Regions from separate parts of the Homo sapiens genome. Here all the other regions are linked to region 1. The links are contacts of gene promoters, found by promoter capture Hi-C in blood cells and fetal thymus (Javierre and others, 2016). All regions are on one chromosome and are shown on one strand. The core of a region is centred on a gene start or on the middle of the fragment in contact, and the rest is flanking DNA. Distances in the headings are between cores, read along the strand shown.

Region 1 (3,607 bases), core at 432-2,931:
CAGGTGCTCACTTAACCTTGACTGTGTTCATCTATCTTTTTGAGAAGGGCTGTCCAGGCAGGCATCTGAGTAGCACTCACAGCCTTGGGAGTTCTAGAAGCCATCCATGATGTACGCACACAGCCAGTGCCCTGGGTAATGATGACAGGCACAGCTTTCAAAGCAGACTGTCCTGCCTCAAGCCCAGCTCTACTTCTTACCAGCAGTAACCAGGACAGACCCCTTTCTAAGGTAGCCACCTCAAGGGGCATGAAAAGGATGGAGTGAACACTATGTGCTAGCATGGCTGGAACATAGTAAGTGCTCAGTATGTCTCAGCTCTTACCTGGGGCACAGTGGAGACTGGCGAGTCAGCACAGTAGGAAACCAGCTTTGAGAGGCAGAGGGCTCTTAACATAAAAAACGGCACAGCTCGGTACTGCTTGCATTTATAAGGCACTTTTCACGTGGATTACTAGTGGTTAAGCTTCAAACAACCCTATAAAGTAGCTAGTGGTATCATAACTCACATTTCATTGATGAAGGGACTAATGTTTCAGAGAGGTGAAGTAAGTTTTCCAGGGACACGCTGCACTGGAAAGAGGGTTCTGCTAGTCCAAATAGGGAGCTCTATCGACCTGAACCGCAAGGATCCAGCCAGGAAGTTGAGATGCGGTTGGACAGCCTACACCACTTCTGCGCCAGGGGGAGGCTGCCCAGAACAGGACGCCCTCCTAGGAACCACAGAGTTTAGCAAAGAAAAGTTTCCCTCTGTCCTGGGTGATTGAGGAGAGCTGCATCCAACAGGCCCTTGCACGAGACCAAATGCGTCGTGGGCACGCGCACACACACACAGACACACGGTGCAACCCGCCCTTCCAGGCCACCTCCGTCAGCCTCAGGCTCTCAAGGAAACCTCGGTTTCCTGGGGAGCCCGAGCCTAGAACCATCCCGACTGGCCTCCGAAGTCAACTCCTCCCTTCCACACCCCCAAGTGCAGGTTTCGGGTTCAACTCTCTGAAGCCGCCTCCCCAGTCCCGCGCTAGGCACCGTCCCGACTACTAAACGGCACTGGGTACCTAGGAGTTGCCTCAGCAGAAGCGCCGCGCCTGGCACGGGTCGGGCACACACTGCATTCGCTGGGCGAAGTGGCCATGCCTGGGTCCCCGCGCCGGGCAGCATGCGGTGCCCCGCAGGGCTCGGCCGAGGGTGGTGGAGGAAGGGGATGCCCCGCGAAGCGGGAATTCGCACCTCTCGCTCTCTTACCTTCCTCATTCTCGTCAAACACGGGGGGCTTGTGGGAGTGGTTCCCGCCCATATTCCGCCGTTGCTGCCGCTGCTACATGCCCGGCCGCTGGGATGCCGGATGCGGGATGTGGGACGCGCGCAGAGATGCGGGATGCCGGGGGCGCGCCCAGTCCGGGTTGTAGCCGCGCGCGGAGCCCGAGGGGGCCGAGCACCGTGCAGGGGCGGGGACGGCGTCCCCCTTCTCCTGGACGCCCTTCCGACTGCGCTCGCAGGGACCCCGCTCTCGCCGCGCCTTCCGCCGTGCCCCGCCTCGGGCTGCGCTCGCAGCTCCTTACTCCAGTGCCCGCCCGGGAACCCGGGAGCTCCTCGCGCCGGGGCCAACGTGCGGCGCTCCTCGCCGGCTACAGCGGGCGGGAGACGCGAGGCGGCGCGGGAGCAGGGGAAGGAGGGGAAGGAGCGGGGGAGGAGGGGACGGACGAAGGCAGCACGCAGTGGGCGGCGGCAGGGCGGAAGGAGCTGAGAAAGGGATCGGCCCGGAAGAATCTGAATCCCTGCTCGGCCCTCCTCCCTCGGCCGGGAGCTCGGTCCCTGCAGGCAGTAAGCGGTTTGTCAGCACCCACTATGGCCAGGCCTCGGCTACGCGCTTTGTTAGCACCATCCCACATCCGCCTCCGACAACCCAGCAGTAAGAAAGCATCGTTCATATTTTAGAGCGCAGTAGACGGAGGTCTAGAGGTAGAGGGGCTCTTAGGTCTGTGGTTAGTCGGCCCCGGCTGCGAAGGGAGTCCCAGGACTCCCCGCTAGCCTGTATTTGCCCATTCATATTGGGATGGGCAGTGGAGTGTCTGCTGGCTCTCCAACCGACGCTGTTCCTCTTAAGGTTTTTCTCAGTGTTTAATGAATGAAAGTATCTGTTTACTTTCTGACCCCTTAAGATTAGATACTAATCTGACCCCTTCATTGTACATGGGGAAACTGAGGCCCCAGACAGCCATAGTTTGCCCCAAACCATTCTCCCTGGGAATGGCTGGGCATGAGTCTCGGGATTCCCCCAAAATTGGGCGGCATCGGCGTCCGATTTAGGGGCGAGGCTAGCATGAGGGTCCCTGGGCTCCTGCGGCGGGAGCCTGGATCGGGAGATACGCGCCACAGTTGCGGGTGCCTAAGTAAGGGGTGCGGCAGATGCGCCCCAAGACGTGTGGGGCGAGCGCGGGTTCCCAGGACGCTCCCTGAGGGACAGGCAGGTCCCCCTGCCTTGCAGTCCTGCGGGCCCAGCTCTCCGGGACTGCAGGGAATCTTTGGCTACATCCTGCCATCTGCTGGGCGCCTGGAACCACTGTCCGTGCTTTGATAGAAAGCAGGGGTTCTTTGTGACTCTCTCCATCCTATCTCGTCCCCCAGTCCCCGTCCCCTACCTGGTCTCTCTCTCCAGTTCTCTCCCCTTCTTTCTTTTTCTTGGGAGAAGGGTGAGGGAAGCCGGGGAGACTCATACAGAAACAAAACAAAACAAAACAAAACAAAAAATCTCTTAAAGGCAGTGGGAAAGAACTGAGAAGGTCTGAGGCAGGCCCACCCACCATGACCCAGAGCTGGCTCTACCATTTACTGGCAATGTGTCCCACTTTGGAGTTCTTATCTGCAAAGTGGGCTGATTGATATTAACTCCTTGGGTTGTCTGTGAGAATTATATCAGGTAATATTTATAAAAGCAGGCAACAGTGCCCGGCATATAATAAATGATGAATAAATATTTCTTGCCTTTCATTCCACCAACAAGCATACACTGAGTAGCCAGTGTGCAGCAGGCAATGCCCTGAACACAGAGCTGGCCCCTAGCTCAAGAAGCATAGGGCGGAATGTGGACAGGCATGGGCTCTGGGCTCATTCTACCCAGGTTTCATTCTGCTTTGCCCCTCATTAGCCAGTTAACTTGGATAAATTACTTAACCTGTTCTGGACTCAGTTTCTTCATCTGAGTCCAGAAGGTGCTAATAAGAGAACTTTCCCTTTCTAACATTGTTATGAGGAATATATTGATATTGTGCTAGGCCGGGCGTGGGGGCTCACACCTGTAATCCCAGCACTTTGGGAGGCTGAGGCGGGTGGATCACCTGAAGTCAAGAGTTTGAGACTAGCCTGGCCAATATGGAGAAACCCCATCTGTACTAAAAAAACAAAACTTAGCTGGGTGTGATTGCCAGGCCTCTGAGCCCAAGCTAAGCCATCATAACCCCTGTGACCTGCACATATACATCCAGATGGCCTGAAGCAACTGAAGAATCACAAAAGAAGTGAAAATGGCCTGTTCCTGCCTTAACTGATGACATTACCTTGTGAAATTCCTTCTCCTGGCTCAGAAGCTCCCGACTGAGCACCTTGT
Region 2 (3,607 bases), core at 369-2,868, 410 kb before region 1:
TACACGGGTTACCTTTGTTTCTGTTTTCTGATGATAAAAAGCAACACGTTCTCACTGTACACATCATATATTTACACATAGTCCCCCTGGGGCAACCGCACTCCTGTTAACATCCAGGTATTTCCTTAGGCCCCTTTCTATGCCTGTTTTTCATACTAGGCTGAGTTCAGTTTTCGAATCTGATTTTTTCACTTATTATTTTATCCTATGCACATTGTCCTGTCATTACTATCTTTTTTATAAAAATCATTCTAAATAACTTAAGAATACAATTTCAGCTCAAAATCTGCCCAACTTCCTGCCCTGGTTCCCTGCTCCGTACCCCCGCCTCCCGCCCCCTGGCAGCTAGAGTCAGCTGACCCTCCGGCCTGGCCCTGCTCCTGGCCAGGGGCTCCTCCCGCTGTGGTCAGGAGGAATTTAGGTCTCCCTGACTTCTGGGCCTTGGACCCAGATTCCTGGTAGCCACTTTCATTCCTCAGCTGTAGCCCAGATGATGGCCCCAGGTGCCGGTCCCCAAAGGCAATGCAGCCCGGTGGCTATAACAGCAGCTTTGGCGCGCACAGGGGAAAAATCCCAGTTCTGCTACTTCCTGATCTTGTAAGTTTCATGACTTCCTTGGGACTCAGTTCATTAGCTGTAAAGTTTGGGTAACAATAATTCCCATATAGGGAATTAATAATATAATATCTATAAAGTACTCCAAGTAGGGCCAGGCATGAAGCAAGTCCTCCCTACAGTGGTGGTCCCTGGGCCTGTTAGGACCTGGGCCTGCTGTGACCTGGCCAAGAAGGAGAGAGGCGAGGCACAGCCTTGAGGTCAGCCAGCCTTGCCACTGGGCCCTGTGTCCTCTCCTTTTACCTGCGTGATGCTGAGGGAGATTCATAACCTCTCTCTGCCTCAGTTTCCTCATCATTGTGAAATATGGCAGGCTCAGAGTTTGTTGAGGGATCAGATGATAAGAGTTTGCCAAGCTTCCAGAACGGTGGATGCCTGACCATGGTGGCCGTTCCACAACTGGCCATTCCCTCTGCTTCTCTGCTGTCCCCTCACCTCCCTAGGATTCCTGGCCTTGAACCCAATTTACAAGAAAGGGTCTTGCTACCTAAAGCTGAACTTGTCTTGGCCATGCTCCCTAATCTGCTTGATGCCAGCCAGTGCCTTTGCCATGACCTGGGGGCAGGAGGAAGACAGGGACTTTGCAGACAGAACTGGGGAAAGTCCTGGCTTCCCTAACTCCCAGGAACTCCCTAAACCTCTATGGGCCTCAGTTTCCATATTGTAAGATGAGGGCACTAGTGCAAGTCTGTGAGGCTGACATGAGAAAATGCAAGAAAAGCTCCTAGCCCAGCCCCTGCCACACAGGAGTTGCCCAATAAATGTTACCGAGTTGTTGTCACTGTGTCATTCGTGGGCTAATGGAGTGGAGTCCTATGTCCTTTGCCCCTTGCTTTCTCAGTCCTAGAGGCTGGGCCTCATCCTTTCTGTTGTGACCTGCTGTGGACCCTCCTTGGGTTCGCGGTACCAATGGCCTCTCCCTTCCCCTGCCTGGCACTGGGCTTTGTCCATCATCACCAACTCCTGGAACTCAACTATGATCACCTTCCCTGATTTCACACATCTGTCCTCCAGAAGTTGCCCTCCCCTAAGGAGCAAGTTGAATCTCAGGCCCAGGTCTCTCCAGACCTGTTTTACCTGCCACTCATTCATTCATTCATTCGTTCATAAATATGCAGGCTCTGCCTTGTTTTGCCTGCCACTCATTCATTCATTCATAAAAATGCAGGTTCTGGATCTAGACCATCTGAATTCAAACTCTCAATTTCTCACTGAGAAATCTTGGGCAAGTTGCCTAACCTTGCTGAGAATGCCATTAACAGGATCCACTGCCCAGGACTGGTGTGAAGCTGACACAAGATAAGTCACACAAAGTTATCAGAACAATGGCAGGTACACAGAACACGCTCAGACCTGTTGGCCATCATCATTCGTTCATTCACGTGACAAGCACACACTTAGGCCTTCTAGTGCCTTCTATTGTCACCCATTGTTCTGGGGTCTGGCTCAGGCAGAGAGAGGTCAGCCAACACTTCGCGGCCCTCACCCTCCGAAGCTCCCAGCAGGATGGCAGGCGCACTGCGACAGAGTGTTCTCACCACTGATGTATCCCTAGGCACTCGTGCAGAGGGTTGCAGGAGAGGCTGAGGCCTGCTCTGTGCAGGGAGGTGGTGGCGCTGGCTGGGAATGTCCCAGAGGAGGCCAAGCTTGGGCTTGTCTTTCCTTCAGAAGGTGACATAACTTGCCTGTCCCCTGCAAATCTCATGTTGAGATGTAATTCCCAGTTTGGGAGGTGGGGCCTGGTGGGAGGTGTTTGGTTCATGGGGACGGATCCCTCATGGCTAGGTGCTGTCCTCACAATAGTGAGTGAGCTCTGGTGAGACATCTGGTAGTTTAAGAGCGTGTGGCACCCCCCACCCCCACTGCTGTTCCTGCTCCTGCCACGTGACACACCTGCTCTTGCTTCACCTTCCGCCCTGACTGGAAGCTCCCTGATGCCTCCCCAGAAGCAAAGCTGATGCAGGTGCCATGCTTCCTGTACAGCCCGCAGGACTGTAAGCCAGTTAAGCCTCTCTTCTTTATAAATTACCCAACCTCAGTTATTCCTTTATAGCAATGCAAGAATGGCCTAATACAGAAGGCTTCTGCTGAGACTGGCAACTGGGCCAGTCCTTGCTTTATGCTGTCTTGAAGGAGGGGTAGGAGACTGCCTTGTGGACAAGGAGAGGAAGGGATCCCCGGAAGAGAAAGCGGCCTGTGCAAGGTTCCAGCTAGGAGACAGCACAGCCAGAGGGGAGGCTACAGACCTGTGGGTGGGGCTGAGGCTCACTGCCCTGTAGGTGGGCATGTGGTAGGGGGCTTGCTTGTGTGTGTGTGTGTTTGTATGGGAGTGTGCATGTGTGTGAAGGTGTGTGTGGGTGAGTATATATGTGAATGCATGTGCTTGTGTAGGATGAGTAGGTATGTGTGTGAGACTGTGTGTGGGGGCACGTGTGCATATGTGTGTGGGGGAATGAGTGTGCATGTGTGTCTATGTGTGAGTGTGACTGAGTGTGTGAGTGTGCATCAGTGTGTGGGTGTGTGCAGGAGAGGGGCTGAGGAGGAGCAGCAGGCCAGGGTGCTGCAAAGGCAGGCACCTGCCAACAGGCTCAGGCACACAATATGGCAAAGCCACAGGCTGACCCCAGATGCCCCCCAGGGCATCCCAGCACACAGCCTCAGGGAAGGCTCAGACAGCACTCGAGGAAGTGCTAATTAGGCAATTTGTGCCTGATGTGCAGGACTGCATCGAGATTCTTAGCCTTCGCCAGTCTCACCCTGAGTTTGGCAGATCAGAGCCTGTGAAGAAGGCGGGCATATTTCTCTGGACTGTCCAAAATGTGCATTAGGAAGGAAGTCAGCCACGGGAATGCGCGCAGAGCAGAGGCTTTGGAAGCCTCCGGGCTCTACTCCCCAGGCTCTGTGAGGGTCCTGGTTTCTCATCGGATCTGTGAAGAACTAGGGTGCAGCCGCCTGAGGTCACAGAGACGGCAGAAGAGACCCAAACCTTTAC
Region 3 (3,607 bases), core at 778-3,277, 340 kb before region 1:
TTGCATTCTAGGAAGAGAGGCACACCAGAAGGCACATGAATCAATGGCAGGATTGTAAGTTGTGGCAGGTGAAGAAGGCAAACCAGAGTCTAGAAAAAAGACTAATAGAGGGACCCTAGTTTTGGTAGATGGTCAGGAAGACCTTTAAGAAGTGGTGACATTGGGTTGACATCTGAATAGCAAGAAAAGGCCAGCTGTGCATCATGTAGTGAGCAAGTTCTCATTTTGCAGATGAGGAAGTAGGAGGATGAGAGAATAAATGATCTCACCTGTGACGTGGTCCTAGCCATGGAAGCTGACAAAGGTGATGGGTGTCACCCCCTTAATTCAGTTATGTTACAGGGCAAACTTGGTGGGATGGCAGTCCCGGGATTATGTTACATTATATGACTCTGTCTTGGCAGACTGGAGTGAGAGCTCAAGACATGAGCTGCTGTGTGGAGCCAGCCACACGGTGGGGAATGTAGCTGTCCCTGGGAGGAAGAGTGACCGCTGGCCTATATGTAGCAAGAAAACGGGACCCCAGTCCTGCAGCCATAAGAGCTGAAATCTGCCAACAACCACAAGAGCCTGGGAGAGAACCCCACCCCATGTTCCAGAAAGGAGTGCAGCCCGGTGGGCATGTGGATTGTAGTTTTGTGAGATCCTATGCAGATGATCCAGTTAAGCCCACCTGGACTCCTGGGCCACGGAAATGGAGGGAAAATAAATGTGAGTTATTTTAAGTTGTTAAGTTAGTGGTAATTAGTTTCACAACAATAGAAAACTAATTCTCTAGCTATATGATCTTGGGCCACTTACTCTCAGCCTTGTTTTCCTCATTTGGGAAATGGGAACAGCAACAGCCATCTCACTGTTGCTGAGTGTACAATGAGATGACATTTGTTCAGCACTTCACACAGTCCCAGTGCAGTGTGGAAGAAGTGCTGAAATAAGTCACAGTGATGGGACTGTCATTGCTCTTTCAAAAGGAGCTAGGGAGAACTCAGAGGCAGACTGGCAGATTCTTGAGCCTTTAGCAAATTAGGTCTCTTTCACAGGAGACTGCTGGGCAGATGCCTGCAAAGCAGCGTGGAGGAGATGGAGAATCTGAATCACTTGGGATTTAATAAGAATAGCATTTTATGGGTAAAGCATCTTAGCAGAGCCTTTAGTTTAGCCAGTTTCAGGACCGTTTCCTCCAGCTCTATTTTTCACATTGATCGTATCTCAGCTCCAGCGCGTCATCCTGTTGAAAACGGGTTTGAACGTTCAGAAAGGGCATCAGGAGCATTGCATGGATGGGAAGGCGGTGACGATGTTTCCTGAGGACAGACCCATAATTTCAGAGTTGGGCAAAATGACACTTTGATGGAAAGTACGCATGCAGGGCTATAAAACCCGGTGCTGCTCTTGAATTATTCCCCAGCCCTCAAATAAAACAAAGCATAAAATGTCAGCTGGGATATTTTAAAAAACAGCATAGAAATGGCTCTGATCCAGAGGTACCCATGCACAGACTGCAAAGCAGGGCCACCAGGATGTTTCTGCATGTGTCTTTTGGCAGGGGGCTTCTCAATATTCTATGCTGGCAATCTTATGCAGCAGTAAAGAGAAATACAAAAACCTGGAGGGGAAAGCTAGACTAAGCGAAGTAAAAATCTGCGGCTATTTTACAACTAGTGAAGGGAATATGCTATCCATATGCATGCAAGAGGGAGAGGGAGGTAGCAAAGGACAGAGAAGAGAGACTTGAGATCCAGTCCTGAGTCTGCCTCTTGCTGGCCATGCAGACAGGAGAACGCTGCCCTGGGTGAGTGATAGGGTTTGGATCTGTGTTCCCGCCCAAATCTCATGTCGAATTGTAATCCCCAGTGTTGGAGGAGGGGCCTGGTAGGAGGTGATTGGATCATGGGGGTGGTTTCTCCTGAATGGTTTAGCACCATCCTCTTGGTGCTATTGTCATGATAGTGAGTTGTGGTTGTTTAAAAGTGTGTAGCACCTCCCCCACTGTCTCTCTTGCTCCTGCTCCCGCCATGTAAGACATGCCTGCTTCCACTTTGCCTTTTGCCACCATCGTAAGTTTCCTGAGGCCTCCCAAGAATCCAAGCAGATGCTGCCATGCTTCCTGTACTGCCTTCAGAACCATGAGTCAATGAAACCTCTTTTCTTTATAAACAACAGTCTCCAGTATTTCTTTATAACAACATGAGAATGGACTAAGACAATGAACATTAGCTTCCTCACTTATAAGTTGGATAATAATGCCCTCTCTAATGGCTACAGTGAGGATTGGATGAGATGGTTCTTATGACAGCAACCAGCACAGGGCCAGGCACATGGAAAGGTGCGATTATGAATAATAACAGAGTGGGGCAAAGACATTTCAGTAGGAGGTTGAGCCAACAGAACAGGCACTAGGGAAGGATGACCAAAGGCATTTACTGGGGGTTGGGGAGGAATGGGAGGGCTTCACCTTGGCTGTTGACCTATGCCTTAGCCAACTTGAATGGGACTTGGCACCCATCCATCAGCAAGCTGATGTGGGATAGGATGCTTAGAATCTGTCATTGTATTGGCATGGATCATTCTCCTAGAAACTGAGTGACAATTAAGAAATGACAACACATCATCTCTACTCATTAAACATTACTTCTTTCTCCCTTCTGTCTCCTGCTTCCTGTGGACATGGGGACCAAGTACAAACAGCAGCCCCCAACACGGTGCTTCAGTGTTAATAGCAGTCCTGACAGTATTAACAGCTAAACTTTATTGAGTGTTGGTTGTGTGTCAGGGACAATCTGAAGTGTGTTATGTGGATTTAGCCATGTGCAGTGTGGCTATTTGTTACCAGGTGCTGGGGAGGCACTCCATATGTCATTATCTTGACACAACTCTTAGAGATAGGTATTGCTACTCCTATTTTACTGATAAAGAGAGAACTATTTACAGAGGGTCAGTGGTATGTCTGGTTCCTCCTTGTGATTTGTCAAAGGTCAAACACCGGTAGAGGTAAGACCTACTCTCATGTTGGTCTCTAGATCAATGTTCTCTCTCTGTGGGTGGGGAAATGAAAAAAAATAAATTAGGAATAAATTGGGGTTCCCAGAATTCTAAAGTAGGCAGTAATAATCTGAGGAACATGCTTATAATAAAGATCTGATTTGATTTTTAAATTAATTAATTATTATTTTTTGAGATGGAGTCTCGCTTTGTCACCCAGGCTGGACTGCAATGGCATGATCTTGGCTCATTACAACCTCCGCCTCCTGAATTCCAGTGATTCTCATGCCTCAGCTTCCCAAGTAGCTGGGATTACAGGCGTGCACCACCACACCTGACTAAATTTTGTATTTTTAGTAGAGACGGCGTATCACCATGCTGGTCTCAAACTCCTGACCTCAAGTGATCCACCCGCCTCGGCCTCCCAAAGTGTTGGGATTACAGGCGTGAGCCATCATGCTTGTTCTGATTTGATTTTAAAAAATTATGTTATTCACATTTCAGGAAACTTATCATTTATTACACCATCCACATGCAAGATTGCATTTCTTTTTTAATATGATTCAAATATCCTTACAAAGCACAAATCTGACCCTGTCCCTTCTCTACATAAATCCTCCTAATG
Region 4 (3,607 bases), core at 682-3,181, 320 kb before region 1:
GATTAATACCCTTATAAAAGACGCTGAAGGGAGGTGCCTTGCCCTTTCTACCACTTAAGGACATACAGAAGCATCTTCTATGGGGAGCAGGCCCTCGCCAGACACTGATTCTTCAGTCTTGGACTTCCTCCCTCCAGAGTTGTGAGAAATAGATTTCTGTTGTTTATCAATGAACCAGTCTAAGGTATTGTGTCACAGCAGCCTGAATGGGCTAAGACATCAATCCATTCTATTATTAGTCCTTATATTTATGACAAACTCTTTCCTCTTTAAGGGACTGATGTGAAGCGTCTTTTTGAAACACACTTATCTTAGCAAAAAGCATTTTGTCTATTATAGAATGTTATTCAAATAGTAGTACAGATGATTTCCAGATAAAGCAAAAATCATGAAGATAGAGAATTAGTTTCCTAGGGCTTCTGTAACAAATGACCATGACTGAGTGGCTTCAAAATACAAAGGCCAGAATTTCAAAGTCAAGGTGTTACCCTGAAGTTCTAAGGGAGAACTCTTCTTGCCTCTTTCAGTTTCTGGTGGTTCCTGGCATTCCTTGGCTTGTGGCTGCATCACTCACTTCCCTGCTTCCATTTCACATGGCCTTCTCCCCTCTGCATTTCCTCTTCTGTCTCTTATAAAGACATCAGTCATTGGATTTAGGGCTCACTGTAATCCAGTATGACCTCATCCTTATTCTTACCGGCAAAGATCCTATTTTCAATTAAGGTTGCATTTTTGAGGTCTCAGGTGGACATTACTTTTGGGGGAACACAATTCAATTACAGTAGGTAGTATTTGTTGGTGTGTAGATAGAGCAGAAATCACAAAGGTTGAAACCATCTTGGAAGCATGATCATGGGGGACCCACATACTCAGATTGCAGAGACAGCACTTTGCTGTGTGGAGTGAGAATGGCAGAGAAGACTGCATCAGTCAAGATCTGGGACAAAATCGGTGGGATGGGGAGAGAGGCGGATTCCTGAGATATTTCCTAGGGGCCCTGCAGATGGGAGATAAGGGGGACACAAAGGTGTGTGGGCTGCTATGCAGGTGTCTGCTCCCAGTGATTCCCAGGTGTTTGGATGAGATTCATAATTAAATTGGTGGACTGGGTAAAGCAGGTTGCCTCCCTTAAGAGGGGGTGGGCCTTGTCCGATCAGTTGAAGGCCTGGCTAGAACAAAAGGTCTGATCTTCCCCTGAGAAAAAGGGAGTTTTTTCTGCCTGACTACCTTAAAACTGAGATATTGGCTTTTTACTACCTTCGGACTCAAACTGAAACATGGGGGTTTCTCTTGGGTCTTGAATCTGCCAGCTTTCAGGCAGAAACTACACCATTGGATCACATGGGTGTTGAACCTGCTGGCTCCCACTGCAGATCTTGGGACTTGCCAGTCTCCACAGTCATCTGAGCCAATTCCTCATGGTAAACCTTCCTTCCTACACACATATCCTATTGGTTCTGTTTCTCTGGAGAATCCTAATATAGCTGGGCGAGCTATATGCATGAGTGCCTAGAAACCAGAGCATCCTTTCCTTACTCTGTTTTCTGTTTGAGTCCCACTTGAGGCCAAATCACAGTTTCAAAGCTTTCTCCCCTCCCCACCCTCCACAAAGCTTTTTCTGGCTTTATAGGCTGACCCCACAGCAATTCCAATCACGACTCCCAACTGCTGTGAATGAAATACTTGACATATATTCAATATTCAATCTTTATTGACTTCAAATGAATGAAATGAGGATTCCTCATTTGGGTCATGGGTCTTATGTCCTGAAGAGGCTCAACCATGCTGAACCCAATCATAAACTTTATTGGGCTCATGGCAGAAAACTAGGCTTTCATGCTCCATAGCATAAAATCCCTTGCAAAAATCAATCTGAATTCAAGAAAGAAATACTGATGCGTGGCAGAAAGGAAGAGCTGGACCTATTAGTCTGAAATAACCGCCCCCCCCCCCAACTTTCTCCTGCTGAGGCCACGAGCTCGAAGTGTGTAGATGCAGTTATTACTGTAATGATACAGGTAGAGCTGAAATTTTATTAAATAGTCCACTGACCCAGAAAAGATGGGAACAGAGTTGTCATCTTCTCCTTTTTAAACATTCTGAAATTTTTGGTCTAGTGTATGATGAAATATTAGATTACTGACACTTTCCTTAATAGGATGGTAATATTGAATAGTAATGGCCGTGTCTCGAATGTGAATGTGTGCTAAGGGAGTGAGAGGTCGGGAGTCCTGGGCTACCTGAAGCTTCAGGGCTCCTGCAAAAAGAATGACAGCACCATCATGGCATTTTCGGTAAATTAACCAAGTCCACCTACAGCCCGGCTGGACAGAGATGGCAGGACCCAGGGAAGTACCCAGAGCTACAGCATGATTCAAAAGGTGCTGCTCCTCCTTCACTCATGGGTCAGACATTCATCAGAATCTGCACCTGACTCTCTGTTTCCACATTTACTGTTCTGTTGCTGCTTGCCACGGTCCCCAATCCTTTGACTTTACTTTCTCACATGTAAGCCCTTCTGACTGCAGGTATGCATTCTCCTCCAAGGGGTTGCTCAGCTGTTGGCTAAGGTTATAGTGTTTGTCCCTTCTGTGCCATCTGCTGTATCTGCTCGCCTGCCTGCAGGCATGAGTGTGACCAATGCAGCCCACATCCTGGCCTGTTTCCAGGGCTGGAGAGAAGTGGCTTGTGCCCAGAAGGACATCTCTGCAGTCACCTGTGTGTGTTCTGCATGGAGGTGCTTTCAGCCCCATGGGGTATTGCCACCACCTGGGAAATGAGCTTACACAGTACTTTTGTCTGAATTGGGAAAAGACTCCCTCCAGAGAGAGAGGTCAGCAAACTCTGTCCTGGGGCTCAAGTCTTGATTTTGGAAATACAGTTTCATTGGAACTCAGTCAATGCTGTTCACAGATGCACTGTTTATTACGGCTGCTTTCTTGTTGCAGTGGCAGGGTTGAGTAATTTTGACAAAGACCCTGTGGTATGCAAGCCTGAAATATTTATGATCTGGCCCCTTTGGCAAATGTTTGCTTGGCACGCAGAGCACAGCCAGGGCTGGATTCCAGCCTCCCACCTCCCCTTCAGCCGGCTGGGCCTGGTGTTGTCTTTACAACAACCGCGCGAGGGAAATAAGACAAGAATCAGGCTCAGGAATGACAAAGACTCTCTCCTTAACCAAACTTTAGACAGGCTCCCCTGAACCTGCTTTTCTCCTAGGCCTCATCCTCGAGACCCATCTTTGGTTTGCTAAATCCAGTTTTAGCAAGATTCCTGCTAAGTCACTTTAGCAAGAAACCCTCACCTTTGATATTGGATCACCCTCCATATCTGATCCAATTCCTCCTCCCCTACCTTTGATGTATAAGCCCTTGGCCTGTCTTTAGCAGGAATCCTGTTAAGTCAGTTTATCAAGAAGCTCCCTACCTTGATGTCTCCTCTTAGTCATTTTCCATCTACTGATCCCTCCTTCTGCTCATTGGCTGTAATCCCAGCTGTCTTTGCTGTGATTCTGAGCTAAATTCCATTTCTCTGCAACATTGTGATAAACTTTACACTCACTGCAATAGTCCTGAATAAAGTCTTCCCTACCATTTTAACAAGTGTT

Evidence for each region. Contacts are between HindIII fragments. The CHiCAGO score rates a contact against its expected background, and 5 or more counts as called.
Region 2: a contact is called between a fragment that was not itself captured here and the fragment with the promoter of STK32B in region 1, in 3 of 17 cell types (M0 macrophages, M2 macrophages and M1 macrophages). The highest score is 5.9, in M0 macrophages.
Region 3: a contact is called between a fragment that was not itself captured here and the fragment with the promoter of STK32B in region 1, in 1 of 17 cell types (megakaryocytes). The highest score is 6.0, in megakaryocytes.
Region 4: a fragment that was not itself captured here is called in contact with the fragment with the promoter of STK32B in region 1 in 1 of 17 cell types (endothelial precursors); the score reaches 7.1 in endothelial precursors.

Annotation. Positions count from the first base shown.
Region 1 is chr4:5,049,554-5,053,160 of GRCh38, reverse strand. STK32B (serine/threonine kinase 32B) reads right to left here and starts at 1,681. Exons shown (of 12, transcript NM_018401.3): 1 at 1,246-1,681. The coding sequence starts at 1,297. RefSeq lists an enhancer at 441-979. The HindIII fragment of the contact is 3,285 bases long and covers 469-3,607 here.
Region 2 is chr4:5,462,976-5,466,582 of GRCh38, reverse strand. All of the region lies in intron 9 of STK32B (serine/threonine kinase 32B), which reads right to left. Among named protein-coding and RNA genes, the nearest start is that of LINC01587, 60 kb to the left of the region's middle. The HindIII fragment of the contact is 1,290 bases long and covers 974-2,263 here.
Region 3 is chr4:5,391,994-5,395,600 of GRCh38, reverse strand. The region is part of intron 4 of STK32B (serine/threonine kinase 32B); the gene reads right to left. Among named protein-coding and RNA genes, the nearest start is that of LINC01587, 130 kb to the left of the region's middle. The HindIII fragment of the contact is 6,269 bases long and covers 1-3,607 here.
Region 4 is chr4:5,371,067-5,374,673 of GRCh38, reverse strand. The region is part of intron 4 of STK32B (serine/threonine kinase 32B); the gene reads right to left. Among named protein-coding and RNA genes, the nearest start is that of LINC01587, 150 kb to the left of the region's middle. The HindIII fragment of the contact is 634 bases long and covers 1,615-2,248 here.